Regions from separate parts of the Homo sapiens genome. Here all the other regions are linked to region 1. The links are contacts of gene promoters, found by promoter capture Hi-C in blood cells and fetal thymus (Javierre and others, 2016). All regions are on one chromosome and are shown on one strand. The core of a region is centred on a gene start or on the middle of the fragment in contact, and the rest is flanking DNA. Distances in the headings are between cores, read along the strand shown. Region 1 holds the start of GGCT (gamma-glutamylcyclotransferase). Region 2 overlaps LOC124901607 (a long non-coding RNA gene). Region 3 overlaps LOC124901607 (a long non-coding RNA gene). Region 4 overlaps ZNRF2 (zinc and ring finger 2). Region 5 overlaps ZNRF2 (zinc and ring finger 2). Region 6 overlaps ZNRF2 (zinc and ring finger 2).

Region 1 (4,771 bases), core at 728-3,227:
CTCCTTCAAATCTATTTTCCATGTGACCAGAATGGGCTTTTGGAGATAGAAATCTATCTTTCATGTGCTTTAGTTCTGCAGTGTGTCTTATTTGGCTTCTGTGGTCCTGGAAGATGTGGCCCTTCCACATATCTCCAGTCTTCATGCCACATTCCCCTTACTAAACTCCAGCCACACTGACTGAAAGATCCAGCTTCCTCTTTCTTCAGGTCCTTTGCAGAAGATGCTGTTCCCTGTTTTGTGTGCTCCCCACCTCTACAATCATTCAGGTCTCAACTTAAAAGTCACATTTTCAGGCAGGGCTTTCCTGAGCATCCTGGTTAGGTCAGGTACCCTGGTCATACGCCCCATTGCACTTTGCATGCCTCCTTTTTAAGATGGACCATATACCTGTAACTGAATAATCCCTTGTTTAATATCTCTTCCCCTTGCCCTGACTGTAAGCATTTGGACTCCCTTCCTACAGTTGGGAAATTCCCTACCTTACGAGTTTGGGAATAGGGAGTATCAGAGCCTGACTCCCATTTTTGAGGCTTCAAAGGCCAGAAGCTGGTTCTCTCAGTTTTGCTTAAAATCACGGCATGGGTACGTGGCCAAAACTTAGCCAATCGGGACATTCTGGGGCTTTCAATTAGAAGCTAGTGCCCAAGACAGCAGGGACTCCAGAGAGGCTGACACATTTGGGTTTCAGGAACTGCAGGGATGTACAGAGGCAGGCAGTGTCCAGGGCAGGGGGTGGTGGACAATACAGCATCCACGTTTACCAAGTTCAGCAGTGGCGTGGAAGAGGCTCCGTGGGCTGGTTCTGTTGTGTGATGCCCACTGTATTACAGTTGCTGTGCCTCCCTTTATGCTTGTCCGTTTTGTCAGCTTTGTACTCCTGCCTTCCTGGTCATTCTGTGAGCTCTCCAATAGCCTTTCAACACATTCTTTTTTTTTTTTTTTTTTTTTTTTTTGCTTAAATCAGCCAGTTTCTGTTGCTTGCAACTAAGAACTCACGATGTTAGCAGAGATCATGTTTGTCTCATTCGACGCTGTCAAAAAGGTTTTGAACATAATCTATTGCACCTCTGTCCTACAGACTGAGAGTTCCTCGAAACAGCCACTTTACTCAATCATGTTTATACCCTTAGTGTTAAGTGCCGGAAGAATATGTACTAAATGAATGAATGGACTGGGCTGAAGAGCAATGATTTACCAACACTGGTTATAGTTCATGCAGCCCCTTGACCTAACTGAACACAGCATTATTACAAATAAGACATGGTCCCAGCTTTCAGGACCTCTTAGATGAGGAGCGAAAGGCAGGTAAACGGATTTTCACAATGCCAGGTGAGAAGTGCTGTAACAAAGGTTATGTACAGAACAGAAGGCAACCAATTCCCAGACACGGGTCAGAGAAGACTCTCCAGAAGTACCAACTGTATGCAATCTGTTAAGTTAGTGGACGAGAGGCCAAATCGGTGCAGACCGAGCAGCCGGTGCAAAGGCCAGGAGGGGGAAAGCTCCAGGCAGCCCGAGAGGGCACCGTGGCCCGGGCAGGGCCGGGCAGTGGGCGCAGCGGAGGAGGTGGACCCGCCCAGGAGGCGGAAGCCGCGTCCTAGTACCCTCATCAAGAAGAACTGCATTCCTGGCCCGATCGGCCACGTGTGCCCCCGAGGAAGCGCCTTCTGGGCATCCCGGCCCCGGCGTGGGTAGCGCGGGAGGGGGCACTCACCTGCAGGCGGGCCACACAGAAGAACGCCGCCGAGGGGTTTCGGAGGTGGATCCTCTCTGTCAGCAGGTTGCTGCCGTAGGCAAAGTACAGAAAACTCTCCTCATCTGGACCCGTGACGTCCTTGCAGCCCGAGTTGGCCATATCCCACTACGCCCCTGCACTGGAGCCTGAAGCAGAGTGTAAGGAACGGCCAGAGAGCGCAACACTGGGGCCCACTACCCCGGCGCAGTGACCGCCGCGCGGCAGCCTCAGGGTTAGGGGACTGGCGGGAAGCGTGGGCCGGTCGAGTCAGGAGCGAGCGCTCTCCTGATTGGCTGCCGGTCCCCACCGACCTGAGTCGCCCCCTTTGATTGGCCATCCCCACGGCCTTCCCTCCGCCTTCCGCCGAGACTCAGAAATAGTCTGTCCTGAAGCAATCCGGCGCTGGCTCCTCATTGGACACGACCTACTGATGTCCCGCCCCTCCTTGCTCAAGGCTTCCTCTGATTGAGGGGTGGACAGGCACTCCTCACAGGCGGGTCGGGTCCCATGGACACTGGCTGAAGGTCGTGGCGCGTGACTGGTTTCTTCGCTCTGGGGTGCTTGTGTGTGGTTCTTTGGTACTTTCTGTGCCTTAGGAAGTTCTGGTCAGATCTGAGGCGAAACAGCGGCCCAGGCGACTCCATCAACGGCTCCCTCATCCGGCAGCTCGCCGGGTCCTGCCTTCCTGGCCTAGAGGAGTCGGGCAGGACGGGTCCGTTCACCCTTTCTGCTGGTTCCGGCACCCCCAGCACTGGTCATCAATCTGACCCCTTTCCACGGACCCGTCGCCTGCTGGAGCGGCCCCTCTGAATGCTTGGGACTCCCTTCCCTGTTACATGGAAGTTACATGCCTGGGCTTAAATCCCGACGCTGCCATTTACTAGCCAAGTAACTTTGGGCACCTCTGGTCTCCGTTTCCTCTTTTTAAAAATCGGGATCATAATATAAGTTAGGGTCACAGTAGAAACCCCTATATTGTGTTTTGGTTACCCCCTCCCACACACACACACATCCTGGGTGTATTTTTTAAAACCTATATTGTTAACTTTTGAATGAACATAAGGGCATAGGAACATTGTCTATCCTTGACACCCAGCTATTAATCTCTAAATACCACCCCCCACTAAAAGGTACCAAGTGATCCTTCGAGAAATGACTGATGCCAGGTCAGGAGCTAGGAGTGAATGAGGACAACTTGGAACATCTTGTGTCAGAAGCTCAGGACGCCTCTCAAGACGAACGAGGTCCTTCTAAAAGGACATGGGAACCAGCCTGAAGTTGCCCACTGGCCAAAATTAGAACAATTTGAGAATCAAAAATAACAATGACTGCAAACTGAAAAATGATTGGAAACTTTAAACATAAAAAAGCCATTCCCCCCAAAGAGTAATCCAAATTAAAAAAAAAACTATAACTTCATTTGCCACACTATTGGTGGTGACTATTACACCAACTTTACTCTGCAAAGTGATAATTTAAGAAAACAAACAGGTATTCCGCCTTTCTAGTAGCAGCTGTATTTCGGGGTAACTGAAATACAGCTGATGACGAGCATCAGTTGATGAGGAAACAGTTCTCTTTACAAAAGTATGCCAACTAAGTCATCCTAAATGAATAATGGAATTTTATAATTGATTCATGCCAGGATCATCAGTGATATCATTTGGTGAAAAGGTGATAGGGAACAGGATATTCACTTGATGCCAAATTACTCCCTGAGGATTACTGCTGGTTACAATTTATTTATTTTATTTTTATTTTTTTGAGACAGAGTCTCACTCCGTCGCCCAGGCTGAAGTGCAGTGGTGTGATGTCGGCTCACTGCAAGCTCCGCCTCCCGGGTTCACACCATTCTCCTGCCTCAGCTTCCTGAGTAGCTGGGACTACAGGCACCCGCCACCATGCCTGGCTAATTTTTTGTATTTTTAGTAGAGACGGGGTTTCACCATGTTGGCCAGGATGGTCTTGATCTCCTGACCTCGTGATCTGCCCGCCTCGGCCTCCCAAAGTGCTGGTGTGTCCGGAATTGTGGGTTCTTGGTTTCACTGACTTAAAGAATGAAGCCGCTGACCCTCGCGGTGAGTGTTACAGTTCTTAATGATGGTGTGTCCGGAGTTCGTTCCTTCAGATGTTCAGATGTGTCTGGAGTTTCTTCCTTCTGGTGGGTTTGTGGTCTCACTGACTTCAGGAGTGAAGCTGCAGACCCTCGCGGTGAGTGTTACGGCTCTTAAAGGCGGTGCATCTGGAGTTGTTCATTCCTTCTGGTGGGTTTGTGGTCTTGCTGACTTCAGGAATGAAGCTGCAGACCTTCATGGTGAGTGTTACAGTTCATAAAGGTGGCTCGTCCAGAGTTGTTCATTCCTCCCATCCGGAGTTGTTTGTTCCTCCCGTCCAGAATTGTTCGTTCCTCCTGTCTGGAGTTGTTCCTTCCTGTGGGTTCATGGTCTCGCTGGCTTCAGGAGTGAAGCTGCAGACCCTCGCGGTTGAGTGTTACGGCTCTTAAAGGCGGTGCATCTGGAGTTGTTCATTCCTTCTGGTGGGTTTGTGGTCTTGCTGACTTCAAGAGTGAAGCTGCAGACCTTCATGGTGAGTGTTACAGTTCATAAAGGTGGCACGTCCAGAGTTGTTCATTCCTCCCATCCGGAGTTGTTCGTTCCTCCCGTCCAGAATTGTTCGTTCCTCCCGTCTGGAGTTGTTCCTTCCTGTGGGTTCATGGTCTCGCTGGCTTCAGGAGTGAAGCTGCAGACCTTCGTGGTGAGTGTTACAGCTCATAAAGGCGGTGCGGACCCAAAGAGTGAGCAGCAGCAAGATTTAGTGCAAAGAGTAAAAGAACAAAGCTTCCACAGCCTGGAGGGGGACCCAAGTGGGTTGCCCATGCTGGCTCTGGTGGCCTGCTTTTATTCCCTTATTTGGCCCCACCCACATCCTGCTGATTGGTCCATTTCACAGAGAGCTGATTGGTCTGTTTTGACAGAGCCCTGATTGGTGTGTTTACAAACCTTTAGCTAGACACAGAGCACTGATTGGTGCATT
Region 2 (4,771 bases), core at 1,142-3,641, 250 kb before region 1:
CACAGCCCACTCCAGCTGAGGCAGAGCCTGTGGTCTTCTGAATCACTATGCTATGCGGCCTGGGTCTCTGACACTTAGCCCTGTTCGTCCTCCAGGGAGAGACATTTGACCAGTATTAAGAGCCTACTGTGTGCCAGGAATAGCTCTAGACACTGGTGATGCATTCATTCACTCAACAAATATTTCAGTATTTCCTGAGTGCTCACTACATGCCAGATTCTGTTTTGTGTTTGGGGTACATCAGTGAACAAAGCTCTCTGCCTTCCTGGAGTTTACGTTCTACTGGAGCAGGCAGACAAGAAACAGGACACATTTAAGAAAATCATATGGTATGTTAGCAAGTGATACACTCTATGGAAGAAAGAAAACTTACAGCATAGTAAAGGGTACCAGGAATGCTGGAGTTGGGGTAGACAGGGTACACTTTTAAATAAAGTGGCCAAGAGAGGTCTCATTAAGAAGGTGGCATTCAAACACAAAAATGGAAGGAAATGAGGGAAGTAACTGTGTCCACATATAGGGAAGAGCATTACAGACAGAGGGAAGAGGCAGTGCCCAGCATGTTGAAAGAACGGCAAGAGGGTAACATGGCCAGAACTGTGAATGAGGAAGAGACAGCAATAGAGATGTGATCACAGCATGGTGAGGACCCAGTCATGGCAGGCCCCCATGTCACTGTGAAGACTCTGAGTGAAATGGAGCGCCCTGGCAGGGCTCTGAGCAGAGGAATGGCCTTTTCTTGTTTTTGTGTTTAAAGAACCACTCTGAATGCTATTTTGAGATGAACTCTAATGTGGCAAGGGTGGAGGCAGGTCAGAGCCAATGCAGTGATCTAGGGAAGAGATAATGCTGGCTCGGGCTGGGCAGTGTTGAAGGTAGTAAGAAGTGGTCAGATTCTGTGGGTGTTTTGAATGTAGAGCCACATTGCAAGACTACCAAGTCATTAAATCAACTGAAACCTGGAGTTTCAAAAAACCTAGACTTAAGAAAACCATTTTCATAACAGAGGAACAGAACATAGGATTTCATGCATGGTGACTTAGAATACTGAAAATTAGTGCTAGTTAGGAAAGAACTATACTTAGACCCAACAGAAAGCATGTCAATAAGAAAACTAGAAAACATAATACATTCCTGTTGTTGTTCCTTGTTTCATTAAATTCAATGCATTCACAAAAATAAAGCAAGCCTCACTAACAAAGCCACATCATTTATAACTTTGCCCTTGTGATTGTGCTGTGAGTACATTCCACAGACAGAGTTAACAGTATTTTAAGAACCATTGCTTCTTTGTTTTCCAAGCTGAACCCTGTTTTACTCCATTGGGAAATATAAATAATGGGAGAAAAGGAAGCAAGATAATGCAAGTATTAATTAACCATTCCTGATCCCTATGACTACAGACACTTTGTGATTATAAGAATCCTAAGAAAAATGGCTTTTTTCTTCTAGGCTTCATCTATTAGATGCTAATGTGGAGAACAAAGTGGCCAGATGAACTTGATTAGCATCACTCTAAAGGAAGATGAGTTGTACCTAGGCAGTTGTCGTGGGCTTGGTGTTTTTTACCTTCTCTATATAGCACAGGAAGTGTTTTGCTGCTAAGACTCGGTGGATCATCATTTGTTCTTTTATCATGGGTGGGTGTGGGCAGAAGATGAGCATCAACAATATTTACTGCTTGACTCCTATGTGCCAGCACTCTGCTACTGTCTCATTCTCCTTTGTACACCCAGTTTATAGTCTTTTAATTCAGCCTGACAGTGTTCTTTATTGAGGTGCACACCATCATTAATGTTCACAGCTGAATGAAGATCTGGCTTTCTAAACAGCTACAGGATTGATGGTTTTATATTAAGGGAGCATTCTCCTCAATGGAGCTGACTTTTAAAAGTGGACTCTGGCATTGGATTAAGTTCTGAGTATTAGGAGATCACTTAGAAGGTCTGTACCTTCCTGCTTGCCTGGTGGCTAATTGTGCAGCCATTATCAGATTCCTGATTAAGAAAGTATATGATGAAAGTTTCCTATGAGGAAACTACTGTGGATAAAGGCCTAAGCTTAGCCTCTTCAAAATACGATTAAATATTAGGTTGGTACAAAAGTAATTGTGGTTTTTGCCTAATAGTTGAGGCATTCTTATTAATCAGGATCACTATTTCTGGAAGTTCTAGCCACTAATAGGCAAGAGAATGAAATAAGTATACCACATTATAATTATTTGTGAGAATTATTAAAAATAATAAAAGTTCAATCAGAAGCCACTGCTAGAAATCACATTACATGTCTTTGAGAGAAAGCCCAGGCACAATCACTGCTGTCTGGGCAGAGCCTCAGAAATCAACTTGCTCACTTAAGGCAAAGGAACATTTACTATTATACTGAACTTTGTCTACACTCAAAAATGGGATCAGAAGAAAGGGAAAGGTTTGTGAACCTCAAGTCCAAGAATAAAAATAGAGGGCTGAAAATGAAAACTCTTATTTTTTAGCTGTCTCAAAAGGAAGCCAGACATTACAGACCAAGGACCACTACTATAAAAGCCTTGGATATAAAGTCAAATTTCTCACATTTTAAAACTCTATGCTATTGCTTCCTTCCTCTCCTCCTCCTCCTCCTCCTGCTGAGTGAAGAGCATAGGCCCTAAATCAGGCCACTTGGTCCAGATTTCCCTTCTACCACTTACTAGTTGTGTGACCATGGAGATGTTACCTGGCCTCTCTAAGCTTCAGTTCCCCTGTCTGTAAACTGGAGATAAGAATAGGACTTATCTCCTAGAGGTACATTTGGAAGAAAGAAAGAACTACTACAAAACACACACACACATACACACACACACACACACACACACACACACACACAGAGTCAGTGCTTCAGGAGCAATGACAATGGGGGATCTTTGTCATAGCCTACTGCCAGGTTTGAGAAACCCCAAGGGATACAGTAGATGGTACAGTGATGGAGGTTGTCACTAGGCTGGATGGGGGGAAACAATTGAAAGAATGTACTCGAAGCTCAGTTTGGAGGTCCAGCATAGGAGAATGGCTGGGGGAGGCAGGAACAACAGCCTAACTCATTTAAAGAATAGTAGAATCAAATATATCCCTCACAGCTTCCAGCGCATGATCTTTATAAATGTGTCTGAATCCAGGAAGATTGCTTCATAGCAAGACACACTTTCCCCCGTTGCCATGGAAACAGCACTGTTCTCATGTGTCAGGAGCGCATGCAGACACACACACACGCACACACGCACGCACACACTGTATGTTAATACATTCTGGTGTTCTTTATACTTCTAAAAGGACATGTTCAGAGCCAGAATTTTACTAATTCCTATCATCCACTTGTTATCTATTATCTGTGTTGTTATGATGTTAAAAATACTGATTTTAGGTTTTTCTTCAATATAATCTCTCCTAGAAGTGAAATAATTCATTATTTGCCCCTTCACCTAGCTCCAATTTTTCTCCCACCCCTTAAACGAACATACTGTAGATCTCAATGCCTATAGTTTATTAATGTTTTAGAAACCTGTTTCAGATCCTAGTCAATTTCTTTGATGGGTAGAATGATGCATTTTGTGTACTTCATGTTCTTAAATATTCTCCATCTAAAATATTGTTTTTACACTGGTAAAATGGCAATTTCTGGGAAGAATGTTGATGAATCACAAGTTTGTATGAGTGTGGGACTATAGTGGTCTGGTTCAGTCTTCAATCTGTATACACTTTAAAAGAAACTAAAGGAAACTGATATGGAGAAATATATTATTTTGACAAGTGTTTCTTGGGCATCTACTATCTCCATATATGACCCAGTTGCCCCTGAGAGCTAATTCCAACTACATGGAGATGCTCACGATCAATGATGAGATGGCATGGTGCATGAGAGTCAGGGAACAGTCTTCAAAGCTCAACACAACCAGCTGTGGCTTTCACTTCACTTGAATTAGGTCATAGAGTCATAACCTGTAAAATGAGCAACTTGGACTAGACTACCTCCCTGGTCAGCTTCAAGACGCCACGGCTATACTTCCATTTCAGAACCAGGCCCCATGGAGTGTGTGGTTGCTTAGACAGCCTCAGTAAGTCCCCGTCTAGGAAGTGACTCAGCCATGTCAGTGTGGGGCTCACACCCCAACAGGCTTCCCACTCCTTGCTGCACCAGTCTTCACCCCAGACCTAGGCCCTCTGGGTGGGGTGGAGCTCCTTCCCAGTGTTCCCTCCCTTCTCCTTCTGCCCACCTCAGATCTACCCTTTGTCACTTGCCTACTGAGACCAGCCAACTTGAGGCAATCATTCCTGCCAAGTTAGCCAGTGGCTGCATATATCATACTCAAGGCAACATTCTTATGGTAAAAATTTACTTTCTGCAGATACCAACCCTGGTAAAGTCTCCAATTTATTTCCTACAACAACTAACCTTCTCACATTCTTTGTTTCAGCCTCAAGGGCAGTTCCTGGAATTCACCAGGCTCTTCACTGCCCTCAGCCTTGGCCTCTAGCCAATGCTGCTGCCACTGCCCAGAAATCTTCTCCTCCACTCAGCACTCTGTTAACTCCTTTCCGCCCTTCAGCAACAGCTTCCAAGTCTCTTTCCCCAACTGAGCCCTCTGCTATTCTCTTTTCCGTCATAGATCTTAGCAGAAAGTACAAACATCTCCCTCAGTAGATGACAGATTTCATGAAGGCACTGTGCCACCGTACACCTGGTACCTGCCTGGTACACAGCAGGGGCTCAGGTTAATAACCGTTGGTTAAATACATGG
Region 3 (4,771 bases), core at 791-3,290, 240 kb before region 1:
AAATGAATGTTGTCACATGCATAGCCAGTATGGAAAACAGTGGCAGAGATATTCTGAAGACTGAAGAGGACCAGTACATTTTAAAAGAGAATTATGATATGTAAATAGATATCTTATACCAAGAAGGGAGAATTGTTGTCAAATTAACTAATGTGGTCTACCAATAGGGAGGATTGTTGTCAATTAAATGAATATGGCCTACCAGTAGAAAAACTTTAGTGCCAACAAACTATTTTTACTTATCTCTCCATGCATCAGGAGGTGAAGGTAAGAACTGCAGCCCTCGATAGATGCATCTTCTTGTCGTTCACCCTCTGTCTTCATTCTTGTTCATCTTTTTTTTTCTTTTGAGACAGGGTCTCATTCTGTTGCCCAAGCTGGAGTGCAGTGGCATGATCTCGGCTCACTGCAGCCTTGATCTCCACAGTTCAAGTGATCCTCCCACCTCAGCCTCCTGAGTAGCTAGGATTACAGGTGTGTACCACCATGCCTGACTAATTTTTTTTTTTTTTTTTTTTTTACATTTTGTAGAGACAGGGTCTCACTACATTGCCAGACTGGTCCCAAACTCCTGGGCTTAAGTGATCCTCCCATCTCGGCCTTCCAAAATGCTGGGGTTACAGGTGTGAGCCACCACACCCAGCCTCTCTTCATTCTTTAAGGGAGTCTCCTTTCTCTGAGTTTATATTACCTGTTTTATCTCTGAGTTTACATCACGTTAGGGACCACAAGTCCCTGTTGCTGGAGATGACCCACCATGAGGATCAGATTGGTGACCTGCATATCTTTAGGCCAAGGTTAGTGAAGGACTAGAGAATCCCGGAGAGCCACACACTGCCTTTATTTTTGGAAAGCCATATTTTCTGCAGGCTCTGAGGGTACTGATTTAGTCATCTTTGGTCTTACACACAGAATCATGAGTATTCATTATGTAAAATTCTTTTAATCAATCTTTTCACAATGTATAATAGCTGTGATCATCAAATTCTAAGCTATAGCAGCCTACAACAGCAATGTGTAAAAAGCTCTATACACTGAAATGTCCTAACTGGGCCGTCGCCAAGTTATGTCTGAATACAAACCAAGACATCAAGATTTGGGGCTGGAAAACTCACTCTCAGTGTAATTTCTTAAAGCCATCATCACTTGGATTCAACTCTCATGACTGTGAAAAGCACTTCAAGTTCAGCTCTCAAGACTATGAAAGCAGAACCCAGGGGACCCGCGGTGGATTCAGCTGCCTTTTCTCTAATTTTCCAACCACGTGTTCACACAAGACGTAGCAGTAAACAGCATGAGGAAAATCAAGCAGGGAAACCTTGCCTCCCCATCAAGTTGCTATAACTCCCTCTCCTGCCTGTCACTATTAACCTCTGGAAAGAGTGGCCTGTAATTGCTATCTAGTACTCATTCCCATGCAGTCTGCAACATGCAGTGGCCTGTCTTCCATCTCCACCACTCAAAAAAGATCAACACTGATGGATGCTGTGCTCAAGAATGATGCCAATCTTCACCATTCCCTACCTGTTTGCTACTTTTGACATCGTTGAATGAATGACCTTCATCCCAAAAACTTTCCCCTTCTTTCACCCTCTGGGATACCTCTCCTCTATTTTTCCTCCTACAACTCTGACTCCACCTCTTCCTTCCCTGGCTCCTCTTCCTCCACCAGCTCCTTGCCATTTCCTCTAAGTCCATCCTAGGTTTCATATTGTCTCCCTCTTTACCATCTCTCCTTCAGTATTTGGAGCAACTTCCACCTAGTATCCTAACGACCTAATCTACATGTTCAATCCACACCTGTGAGCTCTACGCCTCCTGTTCTAATTGCCTACTGGATGCTGACATACATATTTAGCAAATATCTCCAGCTCAACATGCCTCAAATTATACAAACTGTTTCCCTAAAACCTGTTTCTCTTCTTGTCTTCCCAGCCCCATGGCACCCAGGCTGGAAGTGCAGAGTCATCATTAGCTATTCTCTCTCTCTGTCTGTCTCCAAGTTCAGTCTGTCTTATTTCTTACAAAACCAATCGTCTATCTCTCTCCTCTTCATTCCCACTGCCTTCCTAGCTGTCTCCTTGACGGCAGGAACTTCCTCTTTTTTCCAATCCACATTGCTGCCAGAATTCCCTCTACAATAAACAAATTTGATGAGTGTTAGTCCTTAGAGGTTTCCCAAAGCTAGGTGACTGTATGCCTCTGTTGGCCTGGAACAGTGCTGTTTTCTGCTGAGTGTTTGGTTATTCTATCTGGGTAGCATGCCCATTAACTCTCAAAAGTGGCGCATTTGGATGATGAATTATGTGATCAGCCTATCACAGAGTGACAGGTTAAAATCCAAACTCTTTCACCTGGCATACAATCTGTCCCCAAGCTAACTTTCTAGTGCCATCTTCTTCCATCCTGTTTAATTGCCATTCCCCAAACACGCCAGCCTGTTTCCCAGCTCACTGTCATTGTTCGTGCTGTTCTCTCTTCCTGAACACCTTTCCCCCATTTGCCACTTCTCAAATCCTCCTTAACCTTCACTGCCCAGCCAAGGTAGCACCTCTTATGTGAAACAGCATATCCTGTCTGCCCCATTCCCATCTGTCAAGAGCCTCCTCTCCATCCCCTGCTCCCCAGTGATCCTGTAGTGATTTGTTCAACTCTCTGTCACGTATTCTACTTTGAATCTGGTACAATACCTGGCACATTGCAGGTCCTCAAAACATTTTGAAGGAGAGGCTTTCAAGAGGCAGGAAGCCAGGAGGTTTTTTTTTTTTTTCTTTTTTTCCCGGCTGTCTCTGATTAGAATTAAACGCTTTTATTTTCGATATGGGACTTGCTTGAGAAAATCCAACATATCAGAGCCAAATCTATTTCTTCATCTGTAGAGTAATAAGGAGAATAATTGCTGCTGCCAAAAGCTACCCATGTGAACTCAATAAGGTAATAAAAACAAGCCCTGCTGTTGAAGTAGAACGTATTGAAATAGAGAGTGAGATGAGCCTCCCATCCTCTGTCATCTATCCCTACAATCTGCAGCCTGTGTGGTGTGGGGGGCAGGAGAAGATTCTGAGAACTGGCAACTGGTTAAATAGAAAATGTACCTATGGGAGGGAACAATGATTTATCCCAATACAAATGAAACTAATTTGAGGAATAACCACTTATTGAGCATGCACATGGATCGAACATTGTGCTAAGAATTTTACATATAGTTTCTTTATCTTTCCAATCTTATAAGGAGATTGATGGATATTATGATTCCCCATTTTACAGTGCAGGAAACTGGAGCTCAGAGAGGTTAAGCAACTTGCTGATATAGTTTGGCTCTGTGTTCCCACCCAAATCTCATGTTGAATTGTGATCCCCAATGTTGGGGGAGAGACCTGGTGAGAGGTGATTGGATCATGGGGGTGGATTTCCTCCTTGCTTTTCTCACAATAGCGAGTGAGTTCTCACAAGATCTGGTTGTTTGAAAGTGCGTAGCACTTCCCCCTTTGCTCTCTCTTCCTCCTGCTCCTACCACATAAGACTTGCTGGCTTCCACTTCGCCTTCTGCCATGATTGTAGGTTTCCTGAGGCCTTCCCAGACATGCCTCCTGTATAGCTTGCAGAGCTGTGAGTCAATTAACCGTCCTTTTTATAAATTACTCAGTCTCAGGTAGTTCTTTACAGCAGTGTGAGAATGGACTAATACACTTACCAACAGCACAAAGCTAGTAAGTGGTGGAATTGGGATACGTAATAATAATGCTAATAACTCACACATGCGTACCACGGTGTCCGTGGTGTTCTGCTCAGTTCTCACACCCACCCTATGTATTATATTATGTTATATCTCCATCATCAGATGAAGGCAACTTTAAATAACTAGCCCAAGGTCACATCACTAGGAAGAAAGGGTGCCAGGCAATTTACTCCAGTAATCATATGCCTGGTCACTACCCTTGCTCTCCTCCAGGTCTGTCTGACTTTGCTATCTCAGCTCTTTTTATGTAGCCAGAGAATCCATCAGATGGCTCTTCCCTCCTTTCTCAAGATGTGGTCAGCAGACCATCAGCATCAACATCACCTGGAAGCACATTAGAAAGAATCTTGTGCCCCTACTCCAGGTCTAGGGAGGCAGTATCTGCATTTTCACAAGATCCCCAGGACCTGGTCTACATCAGTCACTTTCAATCTCATCTGCATATTGGACTCCCCTTGCGGAGCTTTAAAGAATCTGATGCTGGTTGGGCATGGTAGCTCATGACTGTAATCCCAGCACTTTGGGAGGCCAGGCCAGGGAATCATTTGAGACCAGCAGTTTGAGACTGGTCTGGGCAACATGGCAAAACCTTATCTCTACTAAAAATACAAAAATTAGCTGGGCGTGGTGGCATACACCTGAAGTCCCAGCTACTCGGGAGGCTGAGGCAGGAGAATCGCTTGAACGTGGGAGGCAGAGGTTGCAGCGAGTTGAGATTGTACCACTGTACCCCAGCCTGGGGTACAGAGCGAGACTCCTTCCCCACACCCCCTGCCAAAAAAAAGAATCTGATGCCTGGACACCACTGACAGTGCTTCTGCTTTAATTGTCCAGGTACGGTTTGGGTATTGGGCTTTTTAAAAGCTTCCCAGGGGATTCTGATGTGAAGCCAGGTTGTGAACCACTCCCTTAAGCAAATACACTGTTGCTTGCCTCCTTCCTTCACTCATTCAAGTGCACTCTGGCACAATTTGCTGGGGAGATGGACGATTACAATATAGTATTATAAGTAGTATGTTAAGCACCATCCCA
Region 4 (4,771 bases), core at 1,330-3,829, 200 kb before region 1:
ATAGACTTAGGGTAAATCATTGAGAGAGCTGATTGATGAAAATAGCATGACTTGCTTCCTCATTAACCCACCAAAAAGTTATAGGAAAATGAGGGAAATAAAGGACTAGGGTGAGTTAAAAAGGGAGCTCTGTGCCCCTGGTGTGCTGGAACTAGCTCTTCCTGGAGTTGATAAATTATTAGGACTTCGGCAAGCCAGATGTTAAATATAACCATCATTAAAATTAAATTATATAAATTGCATTTAAATTATATTTAAAACAAAGGAAATACTCAAAACTTATGTCCTAGTTTTATTATATTTTACTGTTATCTGTGTTCTTGAGGTTATTGACACCTGTTGTATCTGTGTGGTGGAAATTCTGTCAGTGTGCAGTTGCACATCTCTTTCCTATTCTGTGTTCAATGATACCACTTTGGTGACTTGAAATAGGACAGACTATTTATACCATGGAAATCAGCAACTAGTACAAATCAGGATTTTTTTCCCCTGGAGAACAGTTGTTAAATATCTACCCGAATACCACTGGGTATAAAGTTTTGCTGTTTGAGATACTGATTGTCTTTCATCATTGTAAATGTACTTATTTTCTGAAGCTTCGAGCATTCTAATCTTACGTAAAGTTTTATTGTTCTTAGGAAAATAGGTAACTATACTAGTTTTACTCATGTTTTAAAAGATATCTTAAGCTTCAAGGGAGATATGGCTTATTTTATTTAGCTTTTATTTTCATGTAGATAGTATTTTTGTAAGTTTGTTCTCCTTGTTTTTTAAAACATTGTCATTTAAAAAGTATACTTAAAAAACCTTTATAACAAATAACCACCCAGAATTTATCTTTCTTGTAAGCCATTAGTTTCATTTCTTGAACTCATTTTAGCAAGGAGTACACTTTTTCAGTTTTTAATGTGGACATGTTTTTGTGTGTATGATTTAATTCTTATAGCAGTGTTGTAGATGAGGTTGACCAGTTACCAGCAATAAATATTGTTTCTCTAGTATTTTTAGTTAGGGCTAACATTTGATTTCTTGTAAGATTAAAGTGTCATATTTCCTACTTGTTTGTTTAGTTTATCCTCTGGTACTTTAGTAAATCAGTGAATTGGGAAATTTTTCATAAGACTTGTGATTCTTATTACATTCATCTGTCATACATGTTTCTAGCACTTATGGCAATGAAATTAAGATTGAAACATTGAAAACATTATTCTGGGTATCTTATTTATTACTGTTTGTATAGTGTAGTGGTTTTGATTTTTGGATCTGTAGCTGGGCCTTTGGGGCTTTGGCCCAGTCATCTAAACTCTCTAAGCCGCTCTTTCCTCAATATTAAAGTAATAATAATAATAGTAGCTACTTCATATAGTGGTTTTAAAGATTAGATGAGATAATGTAGCATTTAGCAAAGTGTTTGGCTTAAAGTGCTCTGCAAATGTGAGCTAACACTCTTACTATCAAAATAATAAATTCTCCTATCTGCAAGTTGCCTTAAATGGCGGGTATAAAGCTAGTAGTAAGTAAAGCATTACATAAAATACTTAAAATAATGAAAGCTATTGAAACAAAGTCAGGAAGAATAAAATTCAGTCTTTTATGGCTTATTATCAAAATAATAAATTCTCCTATCTGCAAGTTGCCTTAAATGGTGGGTATGAAAGCTAGAAGTAAGTAAAGCATTACATAAAATACTTAAAATAATAAAAGCTGTTGAAACAAAGTCAGGAAGAATAAAATTCCATCTTTTATGGCAAATGAGCAAGCTACAATAAGCAGCGTCACTGTTCATTTGTTTAGGATAATGGTTAGGTATCAACCATACCAGCAAATGATAAAACCACCTATTCCAGTCACTGAAATACTAAACCACTGCTTTAGTTGTGTACATACATTATGGATAAACATAGATAATTTTCCTAAAACACTGGATAATCCAATTGCTGTGAAATAGAATTTAGGTAATAAAGGGATTCTTGGTTCCTTTAGTAGTTTAAGTTGCACATTGACTTGCCTGTCGACCGTACTTAAAATTACAGACTTTCTTTGCCTTCCCAAGTCCACTTTTTGAAATAGCTGTTAAGTAGCTCAGTGTCCAAATAATAAGTAAAACAGGAATACGAGGCAGAAGGGAGCATTGATCACCCACCTCTCAATACTACTAGAAAGTTGGCTGCCTAATCTCTCATTATTTTGTATTTATTTGCTATTTTATTCTGGGTGCATAGATTTAATATTATGTTGACACTTTTTATCCTTAGTATTGATTGGGTTTTCCCTCTTTTTTCTACTCTGCTACCTCTATCCCTTCTGGAACCAGTAGTTTAATGGTAAGTATTTAAATAAGATTTACAAAGTTTTTGACCTAGTGAGGATTTTTTTACCCTCACCTATCTTGGTGAAAACTTTGTAGACTTCAGACGGTCTCTGTGGTTTCCCAGGTTTTCATTGTTGCCTTGTTTGTGTGTAGACTGATAAAACTTTAGTTCTGAGGTTCTCCTGTCCTTGCATGCTGTGTCAAATGGCATCCATTGTTTGTGTGTTTCATAGTGATGTTTTTCTTGGAGCTTGCATTCTCTTTTTTGTCTTCTTTCTGCTGTTTTTTTTTGTTTTTTTTTTTTTTTTTTTTTTTTGGCTGGGGGTGGAGGGGTATTGGAGTGGGAAGGAGAAAAGTCTTTCTCACATCTGTACTACTTTTATTTTCTATATGGCATTTGGAATCCTCCCAAATTTTGCCAGGTAGATCTCTGTAAGATGTTTGTTCTGTGTACATTAAAAGCATAATAACTAGTATCTTTGGGAAGAATTATAGACTGAGTCCAAGTCCATTGAATGATACTGTTTTTATTGACCCTTAATTCTGCTAAATTTGCTATCAAATTCTGTGTTGTTATTTCTTGTTTCACATTTCAAGATATTTGAGCCTTTCAAGTGTTTTTTAAAGGTATAAATATATTAGGATTTTTCATAGCAATAACCGTTAACCTGTTGCCTCAAGACTTTGTATTTTGATTTAATGAAATTTTTATTTACCACCGAGCATAATGTTTCACTCTTAAACTTAGATTGTGAAATATAATTTAACTGATTAAAAGAATGAGGCCAGATTTAGTGTGTTAAAACTTATAGTAGACTTTGGAAAGCCACTTTCATAAAATTTTACCATCAAAGAAAATGTCTTTAAAATTTTTGTGTGTGAAATATAAATAAGAAAAATGCAGAAAATGGAAGAGTAGAGTTAGAAAATGAATACCAATGCACCTGTCATCCATGTGCAGTAGAACAGTGCCAACACTCCAGAAATCCTCCCCTTTGTTTTCCTGATAATGAAGCCCTTTTTTCCTCTTAGAATAATCATAATCCGTACATTTGTAATCATTTCTTTGCCATTCTTTGTTTTATAATTTATATATACATTTGTAAAGAATATGTTTAATTTTGCCAGCTTGATATAAATGGAATCATACTCTTTTTTGGGTCTTGCTGCTTTTATGTTTGTAAGATTCATTTATACTGTGTGTAGTTCATCATTCTGTAGTTTAAAGTTTATCATTTTTCATTCTGTAAATACACCAGAATTTTTTCAACCATTCCATTGTTGGGTGTTTGTTTCCATTTTGCCATTATGAACATTGCTACTGTGAATTTTTTGTTAATATGTATTCTGGTGCATATGTGCACAGATTTCTTTAGGACAGTATTACTTAAAATATGGTCCTTGAACGAGCACCATTGGTGGTGTCATCTGTGTGAGCTTGGGAGAAATGCAAATCTGTGGGCTCCACCCTCAATCAGAATCTCTGGGGATGGGGTCTAGGAAACCGAAACAAGCTCTCCACATGAATGACTCTTAAGGACATTAAAATTTGAGAACCACTGCTCTGGGATATATACCTAGAAGTGGAATTGCTGAGTCATAGGTTATGTATACCTTCAGCTTAATAGTGTTTTCCACTGTGGTTATGTTGCTTTTTAGTTACACTGTTGTTTGAGAGTTTGTATTTCTTTACATCCTCTGTAACAATTAGTATTGTCAATATTTTATTTTTTTAAATTAGAATTTGAGTATTTTCTGAGTTACTTTTAATTAGAATTGAATTTTGGCTTTTCAGATTTACTGAAAAAATTGACTTAGATTTACTACAGACTTTCTAAAAATATTATTAGAAATCATAGAAGTAGAGGCAAACAGTACAATGAACTAAAAACTTCATATCTTCAGCATCCACATTCAGTGTTCATTATATTTTGCAGTATTGGCTTCATTTATCTCTTTTCTCTGAATTATTTTAAAGACAGGTCCTAAATATGATGTCTTCACTCCTGTATAAATAAATTCATATATAGAATATGTACCATTTTCTTTACATGATGACATTGTCTTTATTACTGAGGGCCTTTTTACTTTAAAAAGTTAGAATAGGCTTCGTATTAAAACATGTAAAAATTCTAAAATAATGGCAAAGCAGAGTATATAAGCTTTTATTTGGATATCATGAGTGGGACTTTGAACATTCTCTGAACTCTTCTAATGTATTTAGTCAAATAGTTATACTGAATATTTTCTGTTTCAACAATCAGAGTCAAATTTAGATTTCTTAAAGGGATTATTTAACCATTATTTAGGATAAGAATGTGTTTAGAGTGCTCAGAAATTTATCACTTCTCTGATAAAACTCAGCATGTATAATGATGATGTCCTAGTTAAAGACTGGAGTAGACAGCTAAAAGACACCCTGACTCTTTACTCTTAGAAGCAACTCTTTGAAAACCCAGA
Region 5 (4,771 bases), core at 1,117-3,616, 180 kb before region 1:
TGAACCCAGGAGGCGAAAGTTGTAGTGAGCCGAGATTGTGCCACTGCACTCCAGCCTTGGAGACAGAGTGAGACTCTGTCTCAAAAAAAAAAAGAAAAAAAAACAAAAACAAACAAACAAAAAAACAGATACTTAGTGTTACCATGAAAATAGTTTTTACTTTGTTAATCTAAAAGGATTTCAAAGGCTCTTCCACTTCTCCTACTGTACAAGATTCTTTGGACCACAGTTTGAGAACTGCTGCATTGAAATAAAATCTTTTGGGTTAAGCCTAAGTAAAATGTAATGTTCATAATGGCCATTTTCAAAAGTAAGTAAGCATGGTTGAAATTGCAACTTTTTTCTTTTTGTTTAAGAGTATAGAGTAAATGAAGGGAACATATATGAGGAGTAGGGAGAATAAAAGTTTATTCAATAGTAAATAGATGCCTAATGGGAGAAAAAAGTCATTAAGAGAAACCCAAAACTCTACCTATGCAGTGCATATGTGTCTCTGTCTTTCCTCCCATATACAAATTTAGTCTGTGAGCTCTGGAGCGAACTGGTATTTTTTTAGGTCTGGTGTTTTAGACTGTACCATTCTTTCCTGACCAAAATCTCTAGATATTCCAAAACCTAGGAAAGATTTTAAATGTAGCCTTGGCATACTTTGGAATAGACTTGGGGGGGAAAAATCAAGTAGTTCTGTCCTAACCAATGAATAGAATAAAATGAAGGAAAAATGAAAGTTGTTTTCAAAATTTTATAAAGAAACAGACTTCAAAAGCTTAAGAGAAATTTCATTTTTTTTAAATATAAATTTTGGCCTGAAATAAAATGTGTAGAAAGGGTACCAGTAAACACTATAGCCAATTGAAAGATTGGCTAAATTCAACATATATTTTGAGCATCAATTATGTGCGAGGTACTGTGTTAGGAATTAGAGATATAGCAGTGAATGAACAGAAATGGAGCTTACAGCCTACTAATAGTAATAGTCACTGATTTCTTTGAGCTAAGAATTATTGGTTAAATAAAAAGGTTCTATGAAAAACTTAGTAGATATAGCAGCACTTATCTGAGCTTTCTCCTCAGGTAACAAAAATGTTGGGAGGGGTAGAATTTAACATTGAAATGAGCATATTACTTTTGGTAGTGTTTTGCAAGTTGATCTAAGAATCAGTCTCTCAATTCTTCCCTTTCCTTCACTTTTTCTAGTATGGTGGTGCTTCAGCCACCCTATTACAGGGTTGACAATAGAGCACTTTTTGCCATTCATTTGCTGATGAAATGTGAAAGTGGTTTTAAGCAGTTACTTGGCATAATAAATGTATTTGTTGATTATATCCTAACCTTTTTGCATTATGAAATTGAATTGGCTACTTTGCATTATCTACTTCAAGTTTAGTTATTTAAGAAATAGAAAGTGTTCTCATTCAAAATTTGTGACTAAAAGTATATGGGTTTGTTTTTCATACCTGCTCCACTATCTTATATTCTATAATTGTTTATGTTTAATATGAGTGCCTTTAAATATCCATAAATCTTAAAGCTTCTGGCTTTCAATTTGAAAATCACAAATATATTTGACCATATAATAATATATTTACACACAGTCTTAGTATTCTGTATGTTTACTTTTTGTGTAATATATCTAGAATACAGTCTTCTTGTGTATTGTGATATTTAACAATTTTTTTAACTTTTAAGTTGAGGGGTACATGTGCAGGTTTGTTATATAGGTAAACTTGTGTCATGGGGGTTTGTTCTACAGATATTTTGTTACTCAGGTATTAAGCCTAGTACTCATTAGTTATTTTTTCTGATCCTCTCCTTCCTCCTACTCTCCACCCTCTGGTAGGCTCCAATGTGTATTGTTCCCCTCTTTGTGTCCATGTGCTCTCATCATTTAGCTCCCACTTACAAGTGAGAACGTGCGGAATTTGCTTTTCTGTTCCTGTGTGAGTTTGCTGAGGATAATGGCCTCCAGCTCCATCCATGTTTCCACAGAGGACATGATCTTCTTTTTTATGGCTGTGTAGTATTCACACGGTATATATGGACCCACATTTTCTTTATCCAGTCTATCATTTGATGGGCATTTAGGTTGATTCCATGTCTTTGCTCTTGTGAACAGTGCTGCAGTGAACATATGCATGCATGTGTCTTATAACACAAGGATTTATATTCCTTTAGGTGTATACCCAGTAGTGGGATTGATGGGTCAAATGGTATTTCTGTTTTTAGGTCTTTGAGGAATTGCCATACTGTCTTCCACAATGGTTGAACTAATTTACACTCCCACCAACAGTGTGTTAAGTGTTCCTTTTTCTCTGCAGCCTCTCCAACATGTATTTTTTTTTGACTTTTTAATAATACGCATTCTGACGCTTGAAATGGTATCTCCTTGTGGTTTTGATTTGCATTTCTCTAATGATCAGTGATGTTGAGCTTTTTTTCATATGATTCTTGGCCACATTTATGTCTTCTTTTGAAAAGTGTTCATCTCCTTTGCACATTTTTTCATGGGGTTGTTTGCTTTTTTCTTGTAAATTTGTTTAAGTTCCTTATATATGCTGGATATTAAACCTTTGTCAGATGCTTCGTTTGCAAAAATTTTCTCCCATTCTGTAGGTTGTCTGTTCACTTTGTTGATAGTTTCCTTTGCTGTGCAGAAGCTCTTTAGTTTAATTAGATCCCATTTGTCAATTTTTGGTTTTGTTGCAATTGCTTTTGGTGCCTTTGTCATGAAATCTTTGCCTGTTCTTATGTCTATAATGGTATTGCATAAGTTGTCTTCCAGGGTTTTTATAGTTTTGGATTTTACATTTAAGTCTTTAATTCATCTGGACTTAATTTTTGTATGTGGTTTAAGGAGGTTGGCGTGGGGTAGGGGTCCAGTTTCAATCTTCTGCATATGGCTAGCTAGTTATCCCAGCACCATTTATTGAATAGGGAATCCTTTCCCCATTGCTTGTTTTTGGTCAGGTTTGGATATTTGACAGTTCTTAATTTCCTGATTTAACTATGCCTAAGTCATTAAACTGTTCTGCTAGATCACTTGTTTGGTGTCTTAAGAACTAATATATAACCTTCTGCTTGGGGATACTATAACAACCAAATATTTCGAATTTTAAATATTTAACAGTATTTCAATCTAGAAATTAATAAATTTCATGCAATAAGTAAATAAACTTGTAGGCATTCTTAAAGTTGCTGACTGAAAGCTTTAAAAAATAAAAATATATATATTTTTGTTTTTAGAGTCAGGATCTTGCTGTGTTGCCCGGGCTGGAGCTCAGTGGCTATCTATAGGCACAGTCATGGCACACGACAGCCTCAAACTCCTGGGCACAAGTGATCCTCCTACCTCAGCCTCCTAAGTAGCTAGGACTACAGGTGCATGCCACCATGCCTGGCTTTTATTTTTTATTTTGTAGAGATAAAAAATTCAAAGTATGTATTAATTGTATAAACATTCACAGCAAGAAGCAAATACAGCTTCTTAATAAAAACCGTGTATAGTTTTTGAGGTTTTAAAACTAGCTCTTGGACAGTGGCCAGTTATGAGTAAGTGAAGGAGAAAGGAGCTTTGCCTGGACTGATTTGGAGGGTTACAGAGAGGTGGCAGGTTAATAATGTACTTTCCTATCATAGGCAAGGGGAATTCTAATGCCACCTGGTTTTAAAGTCAGACCCCCCCCAAAATGTCTGTCACAGGTGATGAGTCCAAATGGAAATTGGCTCCTTTAATACCTCATAAGCAAACCATCTAGGATTATTATAAAGTAGAACAAGGTAAAGCCAGAGAATCTCTAAAACTGAATCTTTTTAGTCAACTGGATTCCTCACAATTTTATATTTGAATTCCTACATGTTGATTCCATAGAGAGATACATCAGATACATTGGGCCTCTGAATTGTGTTAGTGCTCAAACAAGAACATTTTTTTCAGCATACTGTTCATTTAACTTACACTTTTGCAGCCTTTTCCAAAGTAGCTAGATCTGAAATTTTGAAATTTATTTGTTAAGTGAATGTTAACTGTCTATAAACATTCATAGTTATAACACAAGAATAGTGGGGCTTGTTTTCTTCAGACTGGATATATTTATATAGATAAGCTCCTGAATTGGATGAGTTCCAGAAATTCAAATATAAGTTGATGATTTAGAGTTTCAGACTCTTTGTCACAGAGATGATATTTGAAATATTGGTTTTTCAGACTAGCTCACCAAAACCTTCTTATTTTTTTAAATGCACAATATATCTGAACACCCACATCCTGGTACCTGAAGAAGAAATTGGCTGACTAGGTAGAAACTCTCAGGGATTGGGCAGCTGGCTCGGCAGAGATCCCAATGGGACGCCCAAGGCTGTCAGGGCAGGGAAGGATTTTGAATGATGTGGGTGGTATTATCTATTGCAGATGGTATTTTGGCAGCTTGAAAAAATTAAGAATGCCACAGTGAGTATTCAACAACATAGATTACCTTCATGTGAAGGACTGCCTGTTTCATATACTTTTCCCTCTTTCATGTGCTTCATTGTTGAGTTTATGGACCTAATAATTCCTTGTATAGTCTATGAATCTAATACAAATTTTATGAGTATAGAGGCTCTCTTCATTTCCTTGCTCCTTCTAGGATATTTCAGACAAGCCAACAAATTAAATATTATTAGCAAATTCTTAGTTTTTTTAAAAAATTTTATTATGTGTACATAATAGTACATTTATAGGGGTCCATGTGATATTCAGATACAAATGTACAATGTGTAATGATCAAATCAG
Region 6 (4,771 bases), core at 887-3,386, 140 kb before region 1:
AATATATTAAAGTCAAGTATTTTTACTGTGGCTCTCATTATATAAATAATTAGTATAAGTATCTCAATTTTTCTGGTTTTGTTCCTTTCTAGCTGCATAGATGAATGGTTTGAAGTAAATAGATCTTGCCCTGAGCACCCTTCAGATTAAGCGTCAGCTTCCTGTTTTATAGGTAATTTTTTTTGTAATTACTTTTTAAAGCGTTAGCCCAAATTATACATTCTAAACTATAATTTTTATTTATTCATTTACTCATTGAGGTGCATGAGTGTGTATGTGTATGTTTCAGACACTTAGGCTACTGCATAGAAAACTTACATTAAAAATATTGTATAATTCTAATTGTTGGCTGGGTATGCTGGCTCGCGCCTGTAATCCCAGCACTTTGGGAGGCCTCAGGCAGGTGGATCACTTGAGGCCAAAAGTTCAAGACCAGCCTGGCCAACATGGTGAAACTCTGTCTCTACTAAAAATACAAAAATTAGCCAGGCTTGGTGGTGCACACCTGTAATCCGAGCTACTCGGGAGGCTGAGGTACAAGAATCACTTGAGGCTGGGCATGGTGGCTCACACCTGTAATCCCAGCACTTTGGGAAGCCGAGGCGGGCGGGTCACGAGGTCAGGAGATTGAGACCATCCCTGGCTAACACGGTGAAACCCCGTCTCTACTGAAAATACAAAAAAAAATTAGCCAGGCCTGGTGGCGGGTGCCTGTAGTCCCAGCTGCTTGGGAGGCTGAGGCAGGAGAATGGTGTGAACCCAGGAGGTGGAGTTGGCGGTGAGCTGAGATCGTGCCACTGCACTCTAGCCTGGGCGACAGAGCGAGTCTCCTTCTCAAAAAAAACAAAAAACAAAAGAGAATCACTTGAACCCAGGAAGTGGAGGTTGCAGTGAGCCGAGATCATGCCACTGCACTCCAGCCTGGGTGACAGAGCAAGACTGTCTCAAAAACAACCAAACCAAAAAATAATAATTCTAATCATTTAGTATTATCATGTGCCAGGTGTTGTTGTAAGCATTTTACATCTATTAGTAACTTGTCTAATTGTTACAATAACCGTTTTGAGCTCAGTACCATTACTGTTCCTATTACGCAGATGAAGAAATTAAGTATAGAGAGGTTAAGAAACTTGACTTTTCAAGTTCAGATAACTAGTTTGTTGGTGGGGATGAAATTTGAACCCAGGTATTCTGGTTCCAAAGACTGTTCTTAGCAATTTTGCTCTTTTTAGGTAGGAACATTTTCTTCAAACAGTCGCATCATAAATTTATTCATTCAATTTAATCATTCACTTTTATATCTTTAGCATGTAATACAGTGCCTGTCTATATAGTAGGCAAAAAATAAAGTTGCATTTTACGACTGAAAAAAAAACTAGTTTTGTTCTACTGATTTAAGTTTTTCATGGTTCTGCATTATCTGAAAATGTTTAGTGAATTGAATGCTGACCTCAATTGGGTATTTTCATAGGGCTTTTTTTTTTCACATTTCACAAGTGCATTAAATTGACATCATTTAGCTTTGAAAAAATAAAGGTTAACTTAATTGCTATCTTCAAATATATGAAAAGCTTTTATGAAAAGACTTGGAGAGATGATATAAAGCATTGGATTGTTATATCAAGGCAGAGCATTTTAGCTAATCCTAGAATTGTTTCAGGAGTGAGAGTCTCTTTGTTCAGGGACTCAAGACAGTAACAGCCGGCTTTTCTAGGAGGCTGAGACTGATGGCAAGGAACTAGACCAGATGACGTCCAGAGGTCTAGTCCTGTGTGGTACCATTTCCTTTTATTTCAATAACTTCTCTTAAATTTGAGAATAAAAGTGTTGAGGTAATAAACACCCTCAAGGAATTCTGTTGCTGTATTGGTGGAAGATGATTTAAGAGTAGCAGATTAGAATATTGACAGAGAAGATTTGAGATAATAGCAGCAATAGCACCTGAAATGAGAACTGCAGTTGAGTGTCATAAGACTACGCATGTGCATGTGAAATGTGGAAGCCTTGGTAGACTGCAGAGTACTAAAAGACTGCCAATTTTAACCTTTCCTGTGAACTTACTTAGATCATGCCTTGACACATTTAAAATATGAATTGAGGCTGAACACTAATTGCTTGAGATAAGGAGTTTGAGGCTGCAGTGAGCTATGAACACACCAGTGCACTCCTGCCTGGGTGACTTAGCAAGTCCCTGTCTAAATAAATAAATAAATAAAATGTGAATGGAAGTAAGAATGCTAGGTAAGAGAAGTATAGTGGTGGAGTGGTATTTTGAATATATGTGCACATATGTTTTTATTTCACCATAGAAAAGGTTTGGAATGCCTTCATTGTCACCTTATGTTTGAGACAAAACGAAACTGTGGCTAAAATTATAGAAGCATTTTAAGGGAAGTACTGAAACTGATGCTAACAAAATGAAATTTTTGTCTTAGTATTTTACATGCCAAAGTAATACATCTAAATCCTTCATCTATAGATAAAATTTGTCTTTTTAGTCTTTCTTAGTGCATTTTGGGCTGCTATAACAAAATACCTTAGATGAGTAATTTATACATGACAGAAATTTAGTGCTCACAGTTCTGGAAGCTGGGAAGTCTAAGATCAAGGTTCCAGCCAGTAGATCTGGTGTCTGATGAGGGCTCATTGCTCATTTATGGCACCTTCTGTGTGTCCTCACGTGGTGGGATAACAGACTCCCTCAAGCTTCTATAAGGATACTAACTGCATTCATGTGGTCAGAGCCCTCATCACCTAATCATGTCCCAAAGGCCCCACCTCTTAATACTATAGCACTGCAGATTAGGTTTTAACATAGCAATTTTGGGAGTACACAAACATTTAGACCATAGAGCTGATAAGCTTTTTTTTTTTTTTTTTTTTTTTTTGGTGAGGTGGAATTATATTGTATAAATTTTTTTTCTTTCATCAGCTAAATTTTTCCTTTAGTGTCACAGTGAGCTTATGGGATATGTGGAGCATACATCTCATCTCATAGCTGAAATGCATATGTCTGTTGGTCTTCAACAACATTTCCATTTTCTTATGTTACATATGAGTGTTATATTTGCTTATTTGTTTGTTTTCGAATATAGAACCTGAATTTGAAACTAGCCTACTACATGGGCAGGGTGAACTCTGTTAATCAGGTGTCTACAGAAATCTGAACCAATGGAGTCTGCTTCTGTGGGTCTTGAAGAGTCATTTTTAAGAGTTTATAGACATGGAATATCTTGACTTGTACATTTTTGCTTCTGTCCTGACTGTTCTTATTTATCAAGTGATAAATTCTTGTATACCTTTTAATAGTCCTAGATTAAAGGTATATGGGTTTGAGGAGGATTCAGTGTTGTTAAAACATTTTGTAAGGCACTGTGTAGCCATAAAGCTCAACGTTTCTGATATCCTTCAGCATAAGAATTTAATAATCAACCCAAAATAGAGAGACATGAATATTTGTGGTCTTGATTAGTTAGAAAATTGCTGTACTTATTTTGGGGTTTTTAGTTATTTGGGAGAAATATTTTAAATCTCCGTGTGTGTGCATTCTTTACTTGCGTGTAGTCCTTATTGTGAAAGGGGGATGACTTTGTTATGTATTTTTTGTGACTAAACTTTAATTGATCCTTCTGTTTCTTAATCTGTTCTTCTCCAGATCACTGATTTTATGAGTTTTCAGAATAGTAAGTAAGGGTATGAAGACTTACAGTAACTAAAGCAATGTTCATGGGGAAATCTATTTTTACACAGGTTTTCTTGTCTTGACAAGATGCTTGAAAAACCAAGAGGATATGAAAATCTGTCTCTGGAGAAACAAAGACGCAGGCATACTCAGCCAGAAATCTGAGTTTTGTGAGACTTGGTAATACAGAGATGGACAATCGTACTGGGGTAAAAAAACCCTGCTGAAGAGAGGACAGTGACCACAGAACTCAGTGTACCAAACATGCATACAAAGGACACACAGGGATTTTGAAAATGCTGCACATCCCTTAATAGTCATCTACATAGGTAATACTGATAAACATTTTGTATTCAGACGCCAAAGTTAACTGATTTAAAAGTTGATTTACTTTTTATTAAGTTCTCCAGAGCTGCACAACTAGTTATGTTTTGATTTGTTTTGTTTTTTAATTTGGGGTCTCTTTGTTTTCCCCAACATAATGTTCATAATGTTTCTGCATTCATCTGTTCTTAAATTGAAAAACATATAATTTACTTCTTATAAATTGAAGTCTTAAATGTGAAACCAAGAAATGTAATCAAGCAGTAAAAACATCTGAATGTAGACCATGATCTCAAGTTCTTCCATTTTCTCCCCCACGAGTGGAAAATAGACTTCTACATAGGAAAGCTAAAATATGTTAATATTTTTAAATTAAAGGTTTAATATCAGAATGCAGTCCAAAGAGCAAATCATATTACATAATTACATTTTAATTAAATATAGAATATTCTACTGAATTGCAATTTATTAAATATTCTTATCCTCTTAAATAAAACTGCTCAACAGTTAATCAGCAGTGAATCATCTTGCAGCTATGCAATTTAAAAAAAATACAGATTACCAATTTCAAGTGCTGCCAGCTAAAATAACTGTTTTAACGGGTATCTTTTGTTTGTTCTTTTCACTTAATTATTTTATTGTGCTTTGCATCTCCAGGCAGTTCTCTCACATTTGGGTAAAATGTTTAGCAGGCTGTAAACTTAAGAAAAGGGTAAAATAAAATTTTCTGGAGAGGAACTTGGAATTTGAGGGAGATTTTATATA

Evidence for each region. Contacts are between HindIII fragments. The CHiCAGO score rates a contact against its expected background, and 5 or more counts as called.
Region 2: a fragment that was not itself captured here is called in contact with the fragment with the promoter of GGCT in region 1 in 4 of 17 cell types (naive CD4 T cells, non-activated CD4 T cells, activated CD4 T cells and 1 more); the score reaches 6.7 in naive CD4 T cells.
Region 3: a contact is called between a fragment that was not itself captured here and the fragment with the promoter of GGCT in region 1, in 7 of 17 cell types (total CD4 T cells, neutrophils, non-activated CD4 T cells and 4 more). The highest score is 8.8, in total CD4 T cells.
Region 4: a fragment that was not itself captured here is called in contact with the fragment with the promoter of GGCT in region 1 in 1 of 17 cell types (total B cells); the score reaches 6.0 in total B cells.
Region 5: a fragment that was not itself captured here is called in contact with the fragment with the promoter of GGCT in region 1 in 1 of 17 cell types (naive CD4 T cells); the score reaches 5.8 in naive CD4 T cells.
Region 6: a contact is called between a fragment that was not itself captured here and the fragment with the promoter of GGCT in region 1, in 1 of 17 cell types (activated CD4 T cells). The highest score is 5.1, in activated CD4 T cells.

What each region holds. Positions count from the first base shown.
Region 1 is chr7:30,502,852-30,507,622 of GRCh38, forward strand. It overlaps GGCT (gamma-glutamylcyclotransferase), which reads right to left and starts at 1,978. Exons shown (of 4, transcript NM_024051.4): 1 at 1,718-1,978. The coding sequence starts at 1,858. RefSeq lists enhancers at 1,186-2,065, 1,714-1,923, 2,066-2,944, 2,364-2,453 and a silencer at 1,384-1,563. The HindIII fragment of the contact is 6,754 bases long and covers 1-4,573 here.
Region 2 is chr7:30,248,950-30,253,720 of GRCh38, forward strand. All of the region lies in intron 2 of LOC124901607 (a long non-coding RNA gene), which reads left to right. The region is part of intron 3 of LOC105375218 (a long non-coding RNA gene); the gene reads right to left. Among named protein-coding and RNA genes, the nearest start is that of ZNRF2, 33 kb to the right of the region's middle. The HindIII fragment of the contact is 666 bases long and covers 2,059-2,724 here.
Region 3 is chr7:30,267,635-30,272,405 of GRCh38, forward strand. The region is part of intron 2 of LOC124901607 (a long non-coding RNA gene); the gene reads left to right. All of the region lies in intron 1 of LOC105375218 (a long non-coding RNA gene), which reads right to left. Among named protein-coding and RNA genes, the nearest start is that of ZNRF2, 15 kb to the right of the region's middle. The HindIII fragment of the contact is 5,121 bases long and covers 1-4,601 here.
Region 4 is chr7:30,304,724-30,309,494 of GRCh38, forward strand. The region is part of intron 1 of ZNRF2 (zinc and ring finger 2); the gene reads left to right. Among named protein-coding and RNA genes, the nearest start is that of MIR550B1, 17 kb to the left of the region's middle. The HindIII fragment of the contact is 3,784 bases long and covers 688-4,471 here.
Region 5 is chr7:30,324,467-30,329,237 of GRCh38, forward strand. All of the region lies in intron 2 of ZNRF2 (zinc and ring finger 2), which reads left to right. Among named protein-coding and RNA genes, the nearest start is that of MIR550B1, 37 kb to the left of the region's middle. The HindIII fragment of the contact is 1,675 bases long and covers 1,530-3,204 here.
Region 6 is chr7:30,362,285-30,367,055 of GRCh38, forward strand. ZNRF2 (zinc and ring finger 2) reads left to right here. Exons shown (of 5, transcript NM_147128.4): 4 at 93-172; 5 at 3,751-4,771. The coding sequence ends at 150. Among named protein-coding and RNA genes, the nearest start is that of LINC01176, 26 kb to the right of the region's middle. The HindIII fragment of the contact is 1,135 bases long and covers 1,570-2,704 here.